Regions from separate parts of the Homo sapiens genome. Here region 2 is linked to region 1. Evidence: promoter capture Hi-C in 16 types of primary human blood cells and fetal thymus (Javierre and others, 2016). All regions are on one chromosome and are shown on one strand. Each heading gives the region's core, a stretch centred on a gene start or on the middle of the fragment in contact. The rest is flanking DNA. Distances are from core to core; before and after follow the strand shown.

Region 1 (7,635 bases), core at 700-3,199:
CTGAATATACAGTCAGTACCCAAGTACTGGCCCCAGATTAAACCGTAAACTCGGAACCAGGCCTTGCACACAATAGACACCTGCTTGACCAACATCTGCTGAACTGAGCGGCAAGAATTCACAGTCACAATAGAAACCTTCTACTTGGAGTCAAGTAATCAGGGATTCCTCTCCAATTTGCTTGGTTTCAGCCTGCAGGGCTAGGTGAAAGTGTGTTGTTTACTTGCACTAGCTACAGGCGGTGTAGCCAGGGTGGGTAGGCAGAATTAGCTGTCAAACTTAAAGGGCAAGATGGAGAGAAAATAGGAGGATAAATGGGTATTCCTGTAGCTCAGTGTTTATGATGTAGGACAGAATCTTTGTACAGAATTGACTGGGGAGAGCAGCTCAGAACCCACCCTGTGATGGCTGAGTGCTGGCAGTCTTCTGGAGGGTGTGTGGGGCGGCTGACATGGTGGCCTGGGGGAGTGATGGAAGGCCCATCATCTATGTACTTTGACTTCTCATAAACTCCTGTGGCATGTTTTTAATAATTGATAGAATAAGTAAACAGAAAGTCAATAAGAATATAGAAGACCTGAACACTACTACTAGCCAACTTGACCTAAGTGACATTTGTAGAACACTGTATCCTCAAACAGCAGAATACACCAGAATATACATTCTTCTCAAGTGCATATGGGCCATCTACCAAGATAGATCATATTCTGGGCCATAAAATGAGCCCCAAGAAGTGTAAAACATTTTAGGTCACACAGAGTATGTTTTCTAACAATGGAATTAAATCAGAAATCAATAGGAAAATTCTTGAAAAATCCCCAAGTATTTGGAAACGAAATAATATACTTTTAAATAGCTTATCTGTCAAAGAAGATGAAAAGGGAGCTTAGAAAATATTTTGAGCTGGATGAAAAGGAAAATACAACATACCAAAATTTGTGGGATGCTGCAAAAAATAATACTTAGGAGGAAATTTATAGCACTAAGTGATTGTAATAGAAGAAAGATTTCAAATCAGTGACCTTAGTTCCCACCTTAGGAAATAAGAGCAATTAAACCCAAAGCAAACAGAAGAAAGGAAATCATATGTATGTGTTAAAATAAAACATTACATGCAGTAAAACTGAATTTTGGGGGGAAGTATACAGTTCTTTGAGGTGTTTGTTTGTTTGTTTGTTTGTTTTTGAGATGGAGTTTCACTCTTATTGCCCAGGCTGGTGTGCAGTGGCACGATCTCTGCTCACTGCAACCTCTGCCTCCCAGGTTCAAGCAATTCTCCTGCCTCAGCCTCCCGAGTAGCTGGGATTACAGGCATGCGCCACCACGCCTGGCTAATTTTTTTGTATTTTTAGTAGAGACGGGGTTTCACTATGGTGGTCAGGCTGGTTTCGAACTCCTGACCTTGTGATCCGCCCGCCTCGGCCTCCCAAAGTGTTGGGATTACAGGCTTTAGCCACTGCGCCCGGCCAGTTCTATGAGTTTTAAAACAAATGTAGACCACCACCCAATACATTGTAACCACCAGCACAATCAGGATACAAACATGTCCCACCACTTCCCACATTCCCTCAGGCTGTCCCTTCATAGTCCAACCGTCCCCTAACCCCAAGCCCTGGCAATCACTGATCTGTTCTCTCACACTATAGTTTTGCCTTTTCTGGAATGTCATAGAAATGGATTCATACAGTAAGTCTCCTTTAGAGTTGGCTTCTCTCACTTGCATAATGCCTTTTGGATTTATCCATATTGTTGAGTGCAGCGGCGTGATCTTGGCTCACTGAAGCCTTGACCTCCCAGGCTCAAGAAATCCTCCCATCTCAGCCTCCCATGTAGCTGGGAATATAAGCGGAGGCCGGGCGGGGGTCGCAGCGCCGCAGCCAGCGCAGCCAGCCCCAGGGGGCGCCATCTCCGCCGCTGCCGCCGCCGCCGCCGCCGCCGCGAGACCCCCGCCCCTGCCGCCGCCACCGCCATGGGCAACGCCCCCGCCAAGAAGGACACCGAGCAGGAGGAGAGCGTGAACGAGTTCCTAGCCAAAGCCAGAGGAGATTTCCTCTACAGATGGGGAAACCCCGCTCAAAACACCGCCAGCTCGGATCAGTTCGAACGGCTCAGGACGCTGGGCATGGGCTCCTTCGGGCGGGTGATGCTGGTGAGGCACCAGGAGACCGGCGGCCACTACGCCATGAAGATCCTCAACAAGCAGAAGGTGGTGAAGATGAAGCAGGTCGAGCACATACTGAACGAGAAGCGCATCCTGCAGGCGATCGACTTTCCGTTCCTCGTCAAGCTCCAGTTCTCCTTTAAGGACAACTCCTACCTGTACCTGGTGATGGAGTACGTGCCGGGTGGGGAGATGTTCTCCCGCCTACAGCGCGTCGGAAGGTTTAGCGAGCCCCATGCCTGTTTCTATGCCGCCCAGGTCGTCCTGGCCGTCCAGTACCTACACTCGCTCGACCTCATCCACCGCGACCTGAAGCCCGAGAATCTCCTCATCGACCAGCAGGGCTACCTGCAGGTGACGGACTTCGGTTTCGCCAAGCGCGTGAAGGGCCGCACTTGGACCTTGTGCGGGACCCCAGAGTACCTGGCCCCCGAGATCATCCTGAGCAAAGGCTACAACAAGGCCGTGGACTGGTGGGCCCTAGGGGTGCTCATCTATGAGATGGCCGTGGGCTTCCCACCCTTCTACGCCGACCAGCCCATCCAGATCTACGAGAAGATCGTCTCTGGGAGGGTGCGGTTTCCCTCCAAACTCAGCTCTGACCTCAAGCATCTGCTGCGGAGCCTGCTGCAGGTGGACCTCACCAAGCGCTTCGGAAACCTCAGGAACGGGGTTGGCGACATCAAGAACCACAAGTGGTTCGCCACAACCAGCTGGATCGCCATCTATGAGAAGAAGGTGGAAGCTCCCTTCATCCCGAAGTACACAGGCCCTGGGGATGCCAGTAACTTTGACGACTACGAGGAGGAAGAGCTCCGGATCTCCATCAATGAGAAGTGTGCCAAGGAGTTTTCTGAGTTTTAGGGGTGTGCTTGTGCCCCTGTGGGTTTTCTTTCCTTTTTGTTTTTGGTGGTTTGGGGGATGGGAGGGTTGGATTGAACAGCCAGAGGGCCCCAGAGTTCCTTGTATCTAATTTCATCCTCACCCCACCCTCCAGGGTTGGGGGAGCAGGAAGCCCAGATATTTGGAGGAACAGAAACACCAGCTGCTCCCTCACCCCCCCCCATGCCTTCCTGGTCCCTCTGTGCTTCTCTCTTTCTCCTCCCACAGGGTCCCCCTTGCCCCAGCCCCCTTCTGCCTGTTTTAAACGAGTTTCTCAGCTCTATTCAGGCCAGGTCTTGCTGTTGTATCAAGGGACACGGTGTGGAAAGAGGGGCTCAAACTTAACTCCAGCCCTGAACAGGCACCACTTACTAAGAGAGGATGAATGAAAAGCACACCTACCCTTTGGCGTAATCCTGCCTGGGAAGGAGAGAGGTTTAGTGCCATGTTCAGTGGGCTGTTTGCTAGAATAAAAAATTAAAACAAAAAACAATTAAAATCTTATTTAAGTTCCACCAGTGTCCCCTTTCCTCCTTCCTCTACTTCCACCCCTCCCACCCTTCCCACCTTACCGTGTCTCCCCATTCCATTTTAACAAATCCAGGAAGCCGACTGACTTTGGAAGGAGGCTCTGGGGTTTGAACTTCCCCCATGAACTGCTGATTTCCCCCTCCCCCCTCCCCAGGGGCATCCTCTATCACTCTTGCAAAGGTCTCAGTTCTTTTAGGAAGCTCCACTCTCTTCTTCCCCAGCAGACTTTTCTTCACCCTTGGGCTTTGGGAGCCAGAAAAGCAGCTGCCCTACTCCCTGCCAAAGAGGAGTTGTCCCCCAAAAAGACAGAGTGGGAGTTCCAAGCCCAAGTCTTTCTTCACAGCAGCATTTCCCCGAAACTCCTTAATTTTATTCTCAGCCAGATTGTGATGCCCAGCCTCTCCTTATGGGAAGGCAGTCCTGCAAAAGGACATGGAAGAGGCCCAGCCCCTCCACCCCCACCTCATCGCCCAGGGTTCAAGGCTAGGGTTGCTGGGGAGGGGCTGCCTGTTTTATTCACCCAGCAGCTTCTGCCTTCTCCCATCCTGGGTGCCCCTCTCCAGCTTAGCTGTCAGCCATCCTTCACCTCTTCTCCCCTGCCACCCCGTGCTGTTTTCAATTTTTTTTTTTTTTTGACATGAAGTCTCACTCTGTCACCCAGGCTGGAGTGCAGTGGTACAATCTCAGCTCACTGCAACCTCCGCCTCCCGGGTTCAAGCGACTCTCCTGCCTCAGCCTCCCGAGTAGCTGGGATTACAGGGGCCCACTACCATCCCCGGCTAATTATTGTATTTTTAGTAGAGACGAGGTTTTGCCACATTGGCCAGGCTGGCCTTGAACTCCTGACCTCAGGTGATCCAGCTGCCTTGGCCTCCCAAAGTGCTGGGATTATAGGAGTGAGCCACCGTCCCTGGTCTGTTTTCTTTCTTAATAGAAAAGTGAGGAGCTGCTGGCAAGCCACCTCATTCATCTTCATATTTCCCCCTCTCATCACTTCTCCCCATCCCAGGAGGAGCTCTCAGGCCTGGGGTGGGTCCCCAGGTGGGCTCAGGGTGATTCAACCTGCTTGCTGTGAAAAGATGAGATTTCCTCTTGAACAGTGTGCTGTTGTAAACATATGTCAAAACTATTACCAATAAGGCCGGGTGCTGTAATCCCAGCACTTTGGGAGGCCAAGGCAAGTGGATCACTTGATGTCAGGAGTTTGAGAACAGCCTGGCTAACATTGCAAAACCTCGTCTCTACTAAAAAATACAAAAATAGCTGGGCGTAGTGGCATGCACCTGTAATCCCAGCTACTTGGGAGACTGAGGCAGGAGAATCGCTTGAACCTGGGAGGCAGAGGTTGCAGTGAGCCGAGATCGCATCACTGCACTCCAGCCTGGGTGACAGAGTGAGACTCTGTCTCAATACAACAAAACAAAAAACCAACTATTACCAATAAAGTTTTGTTAAAAAAGAACTGGCAAAACTAATCTATGATGCTGGAAGTCATAATAGTGACCTTTGAGGATGGCATTGGTGGAGAGGGGACATGAAAGAGCCAGCAGGTGGCCAGGCACGGTGGCTCACGCCTGTAATCCCAGCACTTTGGGAGGCCAAGGCGGGCGGATTACGAGGTCAGGAGTTCAAGACCAGCCTGGCCAACATGGTGAAACCCTGTCTCTATTAAAAACACAAAAAATTAGCCAGGCATGGTGGCAGCTGCCTGTAATCCCAGCTACTCGGGAGGCTGAGGCAGGGGAATTGCTTAAACCCGGGATGCAGAGGTTGCAGTGAGCTGAGACTGCACCACCGCACTCCAGCCTGGGCGACAGAGCGAGACTCTGTCTCAAAAAAAAAAAAAAAAAAAAAGCCAGTAGGTTAGCTGCAAATGTTTTCTATGCGCTTTAGGTGCTGGGCACATGGGTCTACACATATGTAAAAATTCACTGGACTATACAATTCATAGCTGTGCACTCTAGCATATGTAAGTTATACCTCAGTCATTAAAAAACGGTTGAAAATGTTGAGGTTTTTTGAGACAGGTGAGACAACACAGGCAGGCCACGGGTGATTCAAGTGGGGATAGAGTTTTGAGGATCACAGCCTCATGGTATTGAAACGGCTTTTGAGTTAGGTCTTAAAATAAAGGTTCTTAACATTTCTTGGGTCCAGGTCACTGTGAATTTGATAAAAAGTATAGTCTTTCTCTTCATGAAAAAAAAAACACCCCATATACACAAAAGCATACCCAACTTGTGTATATGATTTCATGGCCCTATTAACATTTATCTATGACTCTTCTAGAAATCAGTGGGTCCTAGGCTAAGAACCCTGCTTAAATGGGTAGATTTACAAATGGGAGGGGGGAAGAGTGGGATTCACCTATGAAAACCCATGTAGTAAGGGAGAGTGGTAGCACATATGAATACTAGAGAGAGGCAGAGGATCCTCAATCATCCACTTCTGCAGAATTCCCTGTTGACATCCTAACCTAGGATGTAAGACATCCTAGCTTTCCAGCACTGACTCTGCAGGTGAAACTGCTACTTATGCTGAGTAACTATGGCTCTGGGCTACATTTACAAAAGTTTACAGCATGCTTGCTTACAAGAATCAGCTTGTTTTAACTCGAAGTATTTAACACTGAGCATCTTACTCATCAGGAATATCTTTCTGCAGCCTTGATCATTTTGCTTTCTAATGATTTTTCTCTCAACCTCTTATGTCTCTGTTGCTAGGGACACTTACCAGGTGGTGTAAACTGTATTAATTAATTAAAATATTCATTGCTGAGTCCATTCCCATGTGAGAAGTGTACATCCCACACCTTTGACTCCAGACCTGTCAATGTCACTCATGTTGGTGGATGGAATGCAAGTAGAAATGCTGTCAGCTGCACTGAGACAGAAGCTTTGTGAGCTCTCATTGGTTCCACCATTGCTCTTTTTCTCTGCCATGAAAGTTGCCTGTCCCACATAGGGGCTGCTCTGGACCCCAGAATGAAGAAGACTCTTGGAGCAGAGCTGCAGCTGGTCCCCACATGTGAGGGAGACGTAAAACTATGTTGGTGAAAGCTCCTATGATGTTGGGATTGTTTGTTACCATAGCATAACATAGTGAAAGCTGACTAATATACCAGGACATTTGGGAAAGTCTTTGGATGAGTTCAGCAGAAGCTGCTATTGAAGTTTTTCCCATTTTTATCCATCATGAAATTCAGTTTATTTAGGATTTCTGAATATCTCAAATGAGGAGTATTTGGGTTATTTTTAATAAAAGAAGAAATGGAAAGACCATAAATCACTGGAATCGATGTACCACCACAATTGAGAACAAAATATTTTATTTCTCTCACAAAACTATAGTTTACAGTAGTATTTACTAAATAAATTATATAATTTCTCTTTTACAAGCAATAAACTAGATCACAAATATTTCAAAGACAATGTATGTACACGACATAAGGCCTTTTATAAATAGCTTTGCTTTTCTCATTTCACTAGTAAACAGTGAAAAAATCTTTATAGAAGCTAGTTTTCTATAAAGTGAAGGCAGACCTAGTATATTGATCTTTAAATGAAACCAATTTAAACTTTCAATGACATGAACTATAATTTTGCAAAAGAATTTATACTTAATTTACCATGTGTGTGGATGGATTTTTAAAAATATATAAGCAGATTACATATGTTGCTTATGTATAATCACTGGATGCATGCACAATGAAATAATGCAAAAGTCCATAGGAAAATAGCACTTCCAACTCCAAAAAGGTGATTGGCAATGGTACAGAAAGCAGCTTAAATATAGTTCATGCAGTTCTTCACAGTTCAGCAAGCAACAGCAAATGATAGAATAGGGTAGTATTTTTCACATCCCATCTGCTGATCAGCCTGAAGTTGACATCTTGAAAACTCTTAAGTCAGGTTGATGATTTCTCTGTGTGTAGTGGGGCTCAGCCAAGTTGCTGTGGATAATTCTGGTGCGGAGAAACTTCTCTGCCATAACTGTGCTCACGTCTCATCCATGTGCTTAGGTGATCACCATTTTCACTTACTGGGGGGAGCAAAAAAGCA
Region 2 (7,407 bases), core at 2,721-5,220, 290 kb after region 1:
TCTACCAAAATAGCAATTACATTCTTCACAGAAATAGAAAAAACAATCCTAAAATCTGTATAAAACCACAAAAGACTGAAAATAGCTAAAGAAATGTTGAGCAAAAAGAACCAAGCTGAAGGCATCACACTACCTAATCTCAAATTATACTACAAAGCTAGAGTAATCAAAACAGCATGGTACTGGCTAAAACAAAAAACAAAAAAAAAAAAACCCAAAAAAAACACAGACACATAGACCTACGGAACTCAGAAATCAATCCACACACTTGCAGCCAACCCATTTTCAACAAAGGCACCAAGAACATACACTGGGGAAAGGACAGTTTCTTTAATAAATAGTGCTGGGAAAACTGGATATCCATATGCAGAAGAATAAAACTAGATACCTATCTTTTACCATATACAAAAATCAACTCAAAATGCATTAAAGACTTAAATGTAAGGCCTAAAACTATGAAACTACTGAAAAAAATTTTGGGAAAATCTTATAAGATATTTGTCTGGGCAATAATTTTTTGGGTAAGACCCAAAAGCACAGGCAACAAAAACAAAATATTAATAGACAAATGAGATTGCATCAAGCTGAAAAGCTTCTGCACAGCAAAGGAAACAATCAACAAAGTGAAGAGACAACCTAAAGAATGGGAGAAAATATTTGCAAACTATCCATTTATCCATTTGACAAGGGATTAATAACCAGAATACATAAGAAACTCAAACAACTCAATAGCAAAAAAAAAAAAAAAAAAAAAACCAAATACTTCAATTAAAAAATGGGCAAAAGACCTGAATAGACATTTCTCAAAAGAAGACATACAAATGGCTAACAGGTATATGAAAAAATGCTCAACATCACTAATCATCAGGGAGATGCAAATCAAAACCACAACGGGATAACATCTCACCCCAGTAAGAATGGCTATTACCAAAAAAAATCAAAAAGTAACAAATGCTGGAGAGGATGTAGAGAAAGGGCAATATTTGTATACTATTGGTGGGAATGTAAAGATGTACAGCCATTACGGAAAACGATGTAAGTTCCTCAAAAGAAAAAAAAAATAGGACTACCATTTGATCCAGCAATCCCACTGTTAGGTATATATCCAAAAGAAAGAAAATCAGTATATCAAAGAGATATCTGCACTCCCCTGTTTACTACAGCATTTATTCACAATAGTCAACACATAGAATCAATGTAAGTGTCCATCAGTGGATGAATGCACAAAGAAAACGTCTCTCTCTCTCTCTCCCTCTCTCTCTCTCTCTCTCACACACACACACACACACAGAGGAATATTATTCAGCTACAGAAAAGAACGAGATCCTGTCATTTGTAGCAACATGGTGGAAACCGGAAGTCATTATGTTACCTGAAATAAGCTAGGCACAGAAAGACAAATATTCCATGTTCTCACTCGTATGTGGGAGCTAAAAATGTGGATTTCATGGAGGTAGAGAATAAAATGATAGTTATGAGAGGCTGTGAAGGGTAGGGGAGACGAGGGGATGAAGAGAAATTGGTTAAGGATACAAAAACACAGATAGATGGGAAAAGTTCTAGTATTTTATAGTACAGTAGGGAAATTATAGTTAATGATAATTTATTGTATATTTCAAATAGCTAGAAGAATTATAATGTTCCCAACACAATGAAAAATGTTTGAGGTGATATCCTCATTACCCTGATTTGATCATTACACAGTGCATACAGGTATCAAAATATCACAAGTACCCCAAACATATCTACAACTATTATATATTATATGATATACTAATAATAAATAAATACATACATGGTAATAAATAAAATTAATTAATAATTATAATAAATGAAATAAAAATAACAACAATATGGTCAGCAAATGAGCCTCCAAAGAGGAAAAAGGGAAAAAAAAAGTAGCAGGAGCAGCTAGAGTATAGAAAGAGCTGTTAAGGGCCGGGTGCGGTGGCTCACACCTGTAATCCCAGCACTCTGGGAGGCCGAGGCGGGCGGAACACTTGAGGTCAGGAGTTCGAGACCAGCCTGGCCAACCATGGCCAGCATGATGAAACCCCGACTCTACTAAAAATACAAAAATTAGCCTGGCGCGGAGGCAGGCACCTGTAATCCCAGCTACTCAGAAGGCTGAGGCCAGAAAATCGCTTGAACCCGGGAGGTGAAGTTGCAGTGAGCCAAAATCGCACCACTGCACTCCAGCCTGGGTGACAGAGGGAGACTCCATCTCAAAAAATAAAAATAAAAAATAAAGAAAGAGCTGTTAGGTTTTGGTTGGGGGAGACAAAGCAGGCAAAGATATGATCCCTGCTGTCAGGACTCGAATCTGCTTGGAGAGATAAGCAGAGAACAAATGAAACAGAAGCCTCTAGGGAAAGTTCCCAAAGAGTCACAGGAGCAAGAGGACCAAAGAGAATGTGTGCCTGAGAAATCACTTCTAGGGAGGCAGAGTGGGGATCAGTGGGCTCAGAGAGGTCTTCCGAAACAGTAGGCTGTACATGCTATCATGAAAATCTGATGCCATTTCCTTAAACAGAGAAAAGAAAACAACGGAATGAGCCACGCTACAGGGAAATGAAATTGCAAGTGAAGATCAACAAGTGATCTTCTGTCTTCTTCTTACACAATTTCAGGAACATTTCATTTAGTCTCATGGTTTTAATTGCTGGCAAGAGCTCATAATACTGTGTCTTCATCATGGCCTCTTCCACACTTACACACAGCTTCTCTTTAGACTCTCCACCTTCATGTCCTGTATCTCAATCTCATTCGATCTCATGCTCTCCCACAGCCCAGATGATATGACCACAACACAGCCAGTGTCTCCATCATGGATTGATCTTACAGCCACATCCTACCTGGATAGCCCCCAGGTATCTCAAATGCATGTCCAAAATAGGACTCATCATCACAGCCCTCCTGCCTCTGCTACCATATGTACGATGCCTCTACCTGGTATTCTCTCTCAGTTGAGCATCATTCCCCAATCTCTCCAGTCACTCAAGCCAAAAGCCAGAGAATCATCTACTACTACCATTCCCCAAAACTCATATCCAGGTGGTCATCAAGTCCTAGAAATTCTCCCTCTTGAATATCAAATCTACTCACTCTTCCCTATCCACACTACATTACTTCAGGTCCTTTTCATCTCTTCTGTGATTAGTCTCCCTATCTCCAGTCTCTTACCCTTCTAATTCATCCCCTAAACTATTGCTCATGTTGCCATTATGAAACAAAATATGACCTCATCACTTCTCCATCAAACTCTTCTAGTTGTTGCCTCATTGCCTGTAGAAGAAATGTTCAAACTCCTTAGCACAGCTGACAAGATGTCGATGGTCTGGCCCGATACACCTCTCCAGCCCTATCTTATTCCACCCACAGCCACCCTACCCATTATCACATTATACAGCTCCAAAATGCACTAACAAGCTTCATGATGTCATGCTTCATACGTGTTATGCCTGGTATAAAGTAAGAGTTTAAGAAATGGTAGCTGCTATCACTGTTATACAGCTATGACAATGACAACAATGATGATGACAATGATCAACAGTCAACTAGGGCCAGAATGTACCCAAACCAAAGCATTTCAGATTTCAGACACGGTAAAGGATCTAAGGATTTCCTGCCACGGCAGTGACAAAATCATTCTCTAGCAGCAGGTATTACAATTGCTTAAAGCGGGTAGATAGGGAGGTATGGAAGTTATTTGGGAAGTTTCTACACCAGCCCAGGTAAGAGACAGTATTACAATTGCTTAAAGCGGGTAGATAGGGAGGTATGGAAGTTATTTGGGAAGTTTCTACACCAGCCCAGGTAAGAGACGTATCTGGAGACAGAAGTGAGAATAGAAGAGAACATTTTTAAAAAATTGGTAGCTGCACAGAGACAGAGATGACCAAAGTAAAAAGAGTGCTAAAATTTCAAAGGTGGGTTAAAAAAAAAATGAGGGTGTGTTTGATAAAAACAGTATTTGGGAAGGGAGGTGGACTGAATTTTTAAAAGGTGACTGCACAGCTGCAAGTATAGAGTTTGTTCAAAGAGGTAAGAGTTGGGATCAAAAAATCAGCTGAGTAGCAAAGAGACCATGGGGCGTGGGGTTATTAAATTGGTCTAGACTTTTAAAGGTGCAAAAAGCAAGAGACAGAAGAAAGACTGTAATCTGGCAACAAACAAGGCTGCTCCTCGGGGAAGGAACTTGAAGCAGTGGCAAGGCTAGATGCTAGGCTACTGAAATTTTGTAAAGGAAGGGGGAGCTCAGAAGTCAAGGGAAAAACGGTTACAGCTTAAGAATTTGTTTTTATAGCTTAAGAATGAGTTCATTCAACAATGATAATAATACAGGCTGTCTTTGTGCTGGACACTGTTCTAGGTGCTGGAGACAGTGTAGTAAACAGAACAAAGTTCCTGCTCTTGTGAAACTTTACCTTTCAGTAAGGAGGCGGACAAATGAAGAAACAAACAAAAATGTAAGGTCAGAAAGTGCTGCTGCTGATCATTTCTAAAGCTTCCAGGCACATGTGTAGGATACTTAGCATTCAGTTCTAAAATGCTTCCAGAAGTCTTTTGACATATGTGGAAAAGACTATTCCTTCTATAAAGTTTACACAAAATGAAATGATGCATCATGTTTGCATTATAAATTGTCATGTAGGAGAGGGAGTTTCTGAGAAACTGCTAAACTAAATAATGAAGCCCAACTGTACAGACATCTTAAAAGCTGAATTTCCATTCTGTTTCCTATAAACAAATGTAAACAAAAGTCGTGTTTCTCTCTTAACCCTTAGCAGGAGAGACTGATTTCCCATTTGTTTCAGTTTCCATAATCTTCACAACTGAGTCTGAACAACACATCTTGAAAAAAATAAAAGGGCATCATTTAAATACAGCTTGCCACAGCAATGACACCGTTGCTTCTTTTTGTTCCCATACAATGCAGTCGTAAACCTCAGAACAGTCTGGTTCACATCACTCCTTAAAAATAAGTTAATTTTTCAGTATTCAGCTTCCTTGTTTTATTGTGGATATTGAACTTGTTTTCCAATGGAAGATGGAAATCAGGAAAATCTGGGGAACTTTGCTATGCAGTTTCTCCAAGGAAAAGAGAAATGCAGTAATCTATAACCTTTAAAGGCATAAAGCATTGCAAATAAAGCTGTTACCAAAATACTCATCAATTGCCACTATGTTTAACTTAAATGAAAAAGTCTATGAAATCCTGCTTTAGACCATAATATAGTAAACACATTATCAATATGTTACAAAAAGAAAGAAAAAAGAAAGCATGCCTATCACAGCCTGAAAAGGTATCACTTTATCTGAACAACCCAAAAACAGGGCAGAAGAAAACATGCTATTGGCTAATGAATGAAGCGAACAAGAAAGAACTAAAGCTTGCTTGCTTTACCAGTAGAACTCTTGAAGACCTCCCTCAAATACTACTTTTGATCCTTTTTTAAAATTTCAGTTTCAATGGATAATATGACTCTATCTGGCAAACACATTTCAGACAGTATGGTTATCTGGTTCCCAAAATCACAATGGACTTTCAATAGCCAACAATGAGTGAAGGGGCTCACTGCTGAGAGCCACAGAAGTAGGGCCAAAAAAAAAATTATCAAGAAAAAGCAGACAAGATTTTAGAAGACAGCAAAGTAGGGCCATTTGGTTTAGGGGCAAAGAGCCTTGCATTCCTGAATGAATACTAAATCTATCACTTTACAGTAGCATAAAAGACACACTCTGTTCTGTATAATCTTTTAAAGAATCAGGGACAGATGAGACAATGCTGGGAAAATTTTCTATACAAAACTTGGCCATAATAATTGCTGGCAGTTAAAGGAGCAAGCAATCAGGAAATGTTTTCTAGAAGTAAAACAGCCTGCCCAAAGGTTCTGCATAGCCAAGGGTTCCCTATTTTGAGCCCCTTCAATTTTGTGCTTCAGTGGCCAATGAAAATGAGCAGGCTTAATGTCTGAAGGAATTTCAGGAAGAAAAAAACTACACCGTCAAATTATTCTTTATTCTTCACATATTTTTAAAGTCAGAGATTGTTTTCCTTACAGTATTTAGGTTCTTACTAAAATAAATTAGTGTGAACTTTAGGGTGAGCACTATAGGAAAAAATACAGACATTTCCCAGGTTAAAGGCCATGTTTGATGATTGAAGCTTACATATGTTTTATGACAGACAAGGCAGCCATCTGAGTCACTTTTGTCCAACTCAAAGTTCTATCATATGTCTACTCTCCAAGTTTTACTATGCCTTCTTGATAAAACTTTGCAAGGGGAGTCTTTAGGGGGTTTTAAACTCACAACTTTCTGTGGTTTCATAGGAGTGGACAGAGCACTATATGTGGAGTCCTGTCAGCTCCTCAGTAAATGCACACCTCTAGGCTGACACACATCATAGGCAGTGCCAGGGGGATGGCAGATTGCACTCATGCTTTCTAAATAAATTGCAGGTCTCTGCCCTTCAGTAGGGAGTAAAGTCAATTCAGTGGCTCATGACCAGTGTATGGTGGAAGTTGGAGTTGGGAGGGAACACAACAGAAAATAACAGAGGACATTTCATGTGGTATGGCTAAGTACTGTTTCATGAAACCTTTATTTCTGTTATATGTATTATTTATATCTCTACGTATATACTAGGTTTCAACACAGGATGTGTTTCTTATAGCACACTGACTGGGCTACAAAGGACTATCCAAGGTACTGAATGTATCCCCCTCAAAATTCATATCAAAATCCTAACCCCAAGATGATGGTATTAGGAGGTGATTAGGTCATAGGGTGGGATTCGGGCTCTTATAAAGGAGATCCCAGAAAGCTCTTTCTCCCTCTTTCTGTCACATGAGGGTACTAGAAGAAGTTTGCCATCTGTAAGCTGGAAGAGAGCCCTCTCCAGAACCTGATCATGCTGGCACCTGATCTTGGACTCTTAGCCTCCAGAACTATGAGAAATAAACTGTTTTTGTTTATGAACCACCCAGTTTTTGACACTTTGTTATGACAGCCTGAACCACCTAAGACAAGTTGGTATTTTTCTCTTATTTACAGTTCAAATTTGACTAACTGGAAAAGCTATGTGCAAAGATTAAATGCAAGCTTGGGTTATGCCAACTTATATTAACCAGTTTTTATAGGATGCTACCGTCCAGTCTCTTATTCTATTCTAAAAATACCTGGATCATAAAAGAGAATCTTTTTTTCAGATTTTAGATTCAGGGGTTACACATGCAGGTTTGTTACCTGGATATATTGCATGATGTTGAGGATTGGGCTTCAATTGAACCCATCACCCAAGTAGTGAACACAGTACCTGACAGGTAGTTTTTCAACCCTTACCTCCCTCCTTCCCTGTCCCCTTTGGAGCTCCCAGTATCTACTGTTCCCAATTTTATGTCC

What was found. The method cuts DNA at HindIII sites, captures the fragments that hold promoters and counts their contacts. A CHiCAGO score of 5 or more calls a contact.
Region 2: a fragment that was not itself captured here is called in contact with the fragment with the promoter of PRKACG in region 1 in 7 of 17 cell types (erythroblasts, megakaryocytes, monocytes and 4 more); the score reaches 16.4 in erythroblasts.

Annotation. Positions count from the first base shown.
Region 1 is chr9:69,008,427-69,016,061 of GRCh38, reverse strand. It overlaps PRKACG (protein kinase cAMP-activated catalytic subunit gamma), which reads left to right and starts at 1,949. Exons shown (of 1, transcript NM_002732.4): 1 at 1,949-3,558. The coding sequence starts at 1,970. The coding sequence ends at 3,025. It overlaps PIP5K1B (phosphatidylinositol-4-phosphate 5-kinase type 1 beta), which reads right to left. Exons shown (of 16, transcript NM_003558.4): 16 at 6,886-7,615. The coding sequence ends at 7,613. The HindIII fragment of the contact is 8,295 bases long and covers 1-6,471 here.
Region 2 is chr9:68,717,044-68,724,450 of GRCh38, reverse strand. All of the region lies in intron 1 of PIP5K1B (phosphatidylinositol-4-phosphate 5-kinase type 1 beta), which reads right to left. Among named protein-coding and RNA genes, the nearest start is that of PIP5K1B, 16 kb to the right of the region's middle. The HindIII fragment of the contact is 1,078 bases long and covers 3,432-4,509 here.